2 separate regions of the Homo sapiens genome follow, and region 1 is linked to region 2. Evidence: promoter capture Hi-C in 16 types of primary human blood cells and fetal thymus (Javierre and others, 2016). All regions are on one chromosome and are shown on one strand. The core of a region is centred on a gene start or on the middle of the fragment in contact, and the rest is flanking DNA. Distances in the headings are between cores, read along the strand shown. Region 1 overlaps MGAM (maltase-glucoamylase). Region 2 holds the start of TAS2R3 (taste 2 receptor member 3).

What was found. The method cuts DNA at HindIII sites, captures the fragments that hold promoters and counts their contacts. A CHiCAGO score of 5 or more calls a contact.
Region 1: a fragment that was not itself captured here is called in contact with the fragment with the promoter of TAS2R3 in region 2 in 1 of 17 cell types (monocytes); the score reaches 5.1 in monocytes.

Annotation. Positions count from the first base shown.
Region 1 is chr7:142,011,581-142,014,991 of GRCh38, forward strand. All of the region lies in intron 3 of MGAM (maltase-glucoamylase), which reads left to right. Among named protein-coding and RNA genes, the nearest start is that of MGAM, 17 kb to the left of the region's middle. The HindIII fragment of the contact is 1,409 bases long and covers 1,363-2,771 here.
Region 2 is chr7:141,762,646-141,765,933 of GRCh38, forward strand. TAS2R3 (taste 2 receptor member 3) reads left to right here and starts at 1,452. Exons shown (of 1, transcript NM_016943.2): 1 at 1,452-2,552. The coding sequence starts at 1,514. The coding sequence ends at 2,464. The HindIII fragment of the contact is 2,000 bases long and covers 858-2,857 here.

The DNA.
Region 1 (3,411 bases), core at 817-3,316, 250 kb after region 2:
CTTCTGGAAAGCTCTTTGACTTGATCAGTAAGTCACATTTTCTTATAAACTGTGAAATCCTTCTAAGTAAAATGAGACAGTATGTGTTCAGCTAAACATACTCATTAAACGTTCGATTAAATGACTATTGAACACTATACTAACCTCAAAATATTTTAGAATAGTGATCTCTAAGGTTCTGGCAAATGTTTCTCTGAATATTCACCACAGTCTGATTTGGGGGACTAGAAAGACTGGATTATGGGAATGGCAGAGGTGGCAACTTTGTTTTAAAAAGTCTTTGCTGTTAGACTTCACTTTGAGGTTAAATGAAGTGGCCAGCCTAACAAGCTAAATTTCAAAACCTGACTCAAGATGCACATATTATAAAATAGCCTACATTTAAGATATTTCACAGAGTCGAGACTAATTTTATTCATTCGTTAGTTCAAACTTGCTGCACATAAAAACAGCTAGAGAACATTTTGATGAATAGAGGGTGATTTGAAATTCCTTTATCATCAAGTGCTTTCAACTTCTAAAATTCCTGCTCTATTTGAAGATGGGATACTTTGTCTCATTCTACTCATTTTCTTCATGTGGAGACTTTCTGGTTCCACCTTTTTTGTTCACAACATCAGGTTCTTTTGTGCTGCTATAACATAATGCCCAAGACTGAGTAATTTATCAAACACAGAAATTTACTTATCATAGTTATGGATGGAGACTAGAAAGAACAAGACCAAGGTGCTGGCATCTTGTGAGGACCTTCTTGCTGCATCCTCACATGGCAGCACGTAGACAGCAAGAGACAGCCCACTGTCTCCTTTATAAGGGCACCTAATTCCCTTTGTCTGGGAGGAGGCTTCATGGCCTAATCACCTCTTAAAGGCCCCACTGTTAATACTAACATACTGGCAACACGTGAATTTTGGAGGGGGCACATTCCAGCCAAAGCACCAGTCTAACTGAAATTGCTCTAAGTCTTCTATTTTCTTAGACTTCTGTTTTCTTAGGGCAAGCTTCTCCATTTGTCTACTGAATTACAAACTATCCAAACTTAGTGGTTTGCAGCAACAATTGTTTTATTATATGTAGTGATTTTGTAAGTCAGAGATTCTGCCAGGGTTTGGCTGAATGGTTCTGTTCCACATAGCATTTACTGGGATTACATGATATGGTGGTATTTAGTTGGTGGCTGATCTTGTCTGGAGGTTTCAAGATGACTTTACTCACATACCTGGTACCTTGGTGAAAATGGTGGTAAGACTGACTGCACCCTCTTCCCCTCCATGTAGTCACGGAGTCTCTCTTGGTACTCTCTCCAGCAGGGTAGCTGAACTTCTTACATGGTGGCTCAGTGCTGCAAGAGACAGAGGCAAAAGCTTCCAGTTCTCTTAAATACCACACCTAAACCAGCATAGTATCACTTTTGATGCATTTTGTTGATCAGATCAGTCTCAGGGCGGCCCAGCTTCAACAGGAACAGCGACAGACTCCACCTCTTGACACAAAGTGTGTTAAGAGAACTTGATGGCCATTTTAAACAACTGCAGAGGAATGCTTATTTTTTTTTTCAGAGTAGCATAAAGGCTGCTGTTAATGGTGAAGGCTGTGGTGACCTGGACAATACAGATCAGAGCAGGATGGGGTGGCACAGGTTAGAGGAGTCAGCACTGGGAATAGGGTGGGTGGCAGAGTTGAGTGACTGAGGTCTAATGCGAATTGTGAGGAGCTCCTCCTGTTCCCTCCAGTGGCAGGAAATGGTTGATGCCACTGACTCACTCAAGCTGACTCTGCCTCAGTCTGGGATCATGTCCTTTTAACCAGCTTGCATTTGTCCTTGCAACTTTGCCCTCTTTCTTTCCTGAATGCTGTAGTTGCTGAAGTTTTGATTTTCTTTTTTTTTAAATCTTAGATCTGCTGTTTCCTAATGCCCTAATGGTTTATGCATTTCAAGGCGCCTGTAATCTTATCAGTAAATTATTTTCACCCCATATTGTGGAAAGACATAGGGAATTACTTTCGAGAAAGTTTCTAGTTGATAATTGATTTCACCTTTAGAATAGGCTTTTGAGAATAGGGTGGCAATTTCTCTTTTTTATACAAAAATATGTGAGAAAGTATTTTTAAAACTAAAAGGCCCACATGCTTACTACAGAAAATGTGTTAGGAGAGAAAGTCTGTGACAGATTCCTTTAGGTTTTTTCTGGTTCTTCTCTCTACCCATTACACTGGTCAGCCCACAAGCACCTGGGGCTTCTCTGTTTTCCTGTAACAGTAGGAATCATGGATTATCATTTAGTGGTTTTCATTTTACTACTTTCTGTTTGCTTCTCTTTTTCTCTATTTCCTAGGCTCTGTCCCAGAAATTCTGATTTAATTCTTAAGGAGTGGATCCCAGGCCTGCTTATTTTTGTAATTTGCCAGGTGATCCAAATGTGCAGCTAAGATTAATAACCATTGGTCTAGAGCAGCAGTTTTCCAACATTGTTCTGTATTAGCATCACGTAGAGAGCTAATAAAATCCTTAGCACTCCAGCTTCAGTGAAGGAGGATAAGGCCTGAGCTTTTATACTTTTCCTGAATTTTCCAGGTGATTCTGACAGGGACCATAGTTTGAGAATATAGTAAAATGTGTTTGACACAATGTGCAAAGTTGTACATTTTTCAGCAGTTCTGTAGGTCGTTATGTTGGAAGGGACTTTGGCAAAATATGGAATGTTTTCAGTCTCTGTTTTTATATTGTTAGGCATGATTATTATAGTCTTCTTGGTAATCCAGTATATGAAAGCTTGAAAAATAATGACACGTTTGGGACTTGATAAAAGATAGGGAGTTGAGAAAATAGGCAGTTCTATATTATTTTCTATTATTTATTTTCACAATGGTTTTGATTTTTTCTATATAGCGTTAACTTCTTTGAAATAATTATTCATAAATATTTAAGATATACAAAAATATATAACCATTATCCAGCTTAAGAAATAAAATATTATCAGCAGAGATGAAGTCCCCCACGCATATCCCTTCTGTATTATTACCTTTTCCTCCATCCTCTTTAGAAGTAACCACACTTTTGAAATTGATATTTACCATGCATTCCTTTCAACCTTTACTACCTCTATATATACTTGTAAATAATAGATATATACAGCCTATAAACAAAATGCATTTTTGTTTATGCGCTTAACATTGTGAGATTTAACTATGTTGATAGATATCTCTAGTTCATTTATTTTGCTATAAAACTGGTACACAATTGTATAAAATTATGTCAATTTTATGGCAAAAATAAATCAAAATCATTCTACAGTAAAAAAAGTTTTTCTTCAATATATTGAAGTTACATCAGTCCCATTCTGAATATTTTTGTAAGTTTTTTTTTACTTGCATCTGTGTGATTTTAGATATATATCTTAAGTTTACTAG
Region 2 (3,288 bases), core at 202-2,701:
CCAGTATCTATTGTCCCTTCTGTATTTATAGAACCCAGATGTGACAGGGTGCACAGCACATGTACTGCATTCCTGTTCTTTTCAGTTAGGGGTTGCCAAGGGGCTATAGGCAGAAGTCACTTGGTGATGCTCTCAGGGAACTTTCTATATGAGTTACTCTTGGGAGGCGTATCCTGTGTGCTTCCCCAGACTCTCGTCCTACAGCATTTTCTTTTTTGTCTGAAATGTGGACATTTCATGGCTGGATTTCCAGTTGCCATCTTGGACCATGAGGCAGTCTTCAGAATGGAAGGTAGAAGAAGCTGGGATCTGCAATCACTATGCAACCACCATACCAGCCTGGACAGTTTGCCTCTGGACTGCTTTGGGAGACAAAAATATACCTCTCCTCTAAGCCATTTACTTGTGTTGTGTACTTAAACCTAATTCTTTCTTATTCATATATTGTTGACTTTATCTCCGTATACATGAGCAACTCTTTACTCTTATCTTTCTCTTACATGACCTTTCACGGCAAGTAGAAGTAAAATCTTTTCTTTATTCCCACAATCCTTTAGGTTTTAAACTAATGTCTCATTAAATTTAGGGAAGGGAGTAGGACATAAAAAGTATACAAACCTTAGCAATTAGCTTTAAAAAGAGTCAACATAAGCATACTTTAATACAAACTACGTACTGCTTAATTCTGCATATAGTCCTGAATGAAGATCCTTAATTAATAGCCGCTTGTTAAATAGAGGAGCTCTTAGGTTAAGAACAGAAGTATTGTTCTTATGCCTCCCTGGACAGTATTATAGCAGACTAGCAATCCAGAGTGGGTCTGAGACTTCCCACTGCAAGTCCAAGTTCGGGATGTAAGCTTGGCCACTTTCTGGTGAGGCTTCTCTTGCTAGCTTATAGCTTACAGCCATCTCTCTGCATGTAAGCCAGGCTCCAAGGGGCATGCCTTTTAATTCTAATCCATGATCAATGGCACTGAACTTTTACAATTTTATGCACTTAAACCTCACTCCAGGTGGATAGTGGCTCCTAGTGGAATTCCTTTTCTGTATCTCTGAGTCCTCCCTCCTGAGGAATGAGACTTTTTACTCTTCTGAGTAATTCTGAGCCGCCTCCATTTGGTGCCGCTCATCTTTCTGTTTTGGGTAACTCAGAGCCCTACACCCTTTGAAACTGAGTCCAAGTCCTCCATCATCTTTGTGACCTAGATCTCTTCCTTCTCTATGTGACACTGGACACTACTCATTTGCATTTTAGCAAAGAGCTGCAAAGTTTAGGTTCATTGATGGAATATGACAATCCATATCATCTGTGAAGAGGACAGACTAACCTGAAAGAGCCAGAGAGGATTTCCTAAATTGTGCTCTACGACAGACTAAATTGGGCAGAGACAAGAGACAGGTACAGTGAAGCAACAGGTAGAGGAGTAGATTAACGAGAAAAATATCACATCAGTGAGGAGATTCTATGTATCAACAGAAAGAACAAAGATCAGGGCTGCCTAATTGCTGACATGATGGGACTCACCGAGGGGGTGTTCCTGATTCTGTCTGGCACTCAGTTCACACTGGGAATTCTGGTCAATTGTTTCATTGAGTTGGTCAATGGTAGCAGCTGGTTCAAGACCAAGAGAATGTCTTTGTCTGACTTCATCATCACCACCCTGGCACTCTTGAGGATCATTCTGCTGTGTATTATCTTGACTGATAGTTTTTTAATAGAATTCTCTCCCAACACACATGATTCAGGGATAATAATGCAAATTATTGATGTTTCCTGGACATTTACAAACCATCTGAGCATTTGGCTTGCCACCTGTCTTGGTGTCCTCTACTGCCTGAAAATCGCCAGTTTCTCTCACCCCACATTCCTCTGGCTCAAGTGGAGAGTTTCTAGGGTGATGGTATGGATGCTGTTGGGTGCACTGCTCTTATCCTGTGGTAGTACCGCATCTCTGATCAATGAGTTTAAGCTCTATTCTGTCTTTAGGGGAATTGAGGCCACCAGGAATGTGACTGAACACTTCAGAAAGAAGAGGAGTGAGTATTATCTGATCCATGTTCTTGGGACTCTGTGGTACCTGCCTCCCTTAATTGTGTCCCTGGCCTCCTACTCTTTGCTCATCTTCTCCCTGGGGAGGCACACACGGCAGATGCTGCAAAATGGGACAAGCTCCAGAGATCCAACCACTGAGGCCCACAAGAGGGCCATCAGAATCATCCTTTCCTTCTTCTTTCTCTTCTTACTTTACTTTCTTGCTTTCTTAATTGCATCATTTGGTAATTTCCTACCAAAAACCAAGATGGCTAAGATGATTGGCGAAGTAATGACAATGTTTTATCCTGCTGGCCACTCATTTATTCTCATTCTGGGGAACAGTAAGCTGAAGCAGACATTTGTAGTGATGCTCCGGTGTGAGTCTGGTCATCTGAAGCCTGGATCCAAGGGACCCATTTTCTCTTAGAGTAACAGAGGGCATGGGGTGGAGCCCTTGAGCCTTTTGGCCTGGCTCAAGACTACAGGACTCTTCCTGACCTTCCTATGTTACCAGTTCCATAACATCAGTAGGAGAGAAACACTGACTGCTTTGCCCCTGGTCCCTGGGCACTTGTTCCAAGGTGAAAGCCACGCTTCTCACAGCCTCTCTCTGTATGGTGGTTGCGGAGGTGGGGAGGGTGCAGGAGTAGTAGTCTTGGAAATGACCATGTCGTAAGAACACTCTCACTATAAACATATGGTGCTGTATTTTAATAATCATCAGCTCGACATAATGAGTCTGATTACTAGTTTCAACTTAAATTAGATACTAACAGTGATAAACATAAAATTACATAGTAGACTTGAAGGAAAGAGCAAAAGCTTTGCAGTCCTATAGATGTGGGTTTGAATTCTGATTCTGGCCAAGATTTTTGGCCTCTGGTGAGTTACTTTAATTACCTGTCTGATTCCCTCTTCTGATCCCTACTGGCCATTTTAGCACAGTGTGTTGTGTACAGTACTCAGTAAGTGAAGGCTATTATTGCGCTAATATTGGATTGTGCAGCAACAGCAATTTCCATATGATTCCAGTTCCCACAAACACATTGTGTAATGATGAAAACAGTGGAAAGAAAATCAAGACCTTTAGATTCTAGATTCCAATTCAATCTTGCATTTCATGATCATTTTGCTAAAGTACATTTTCAAGTAATTATTTTGTAGATTGGGCAAAAGACCAAGTAGTTTTGTTTTTATTTTTGACCAAGATGCCTACCTGGTTTTAAAATTACAGTTTTATCAAATGTAATA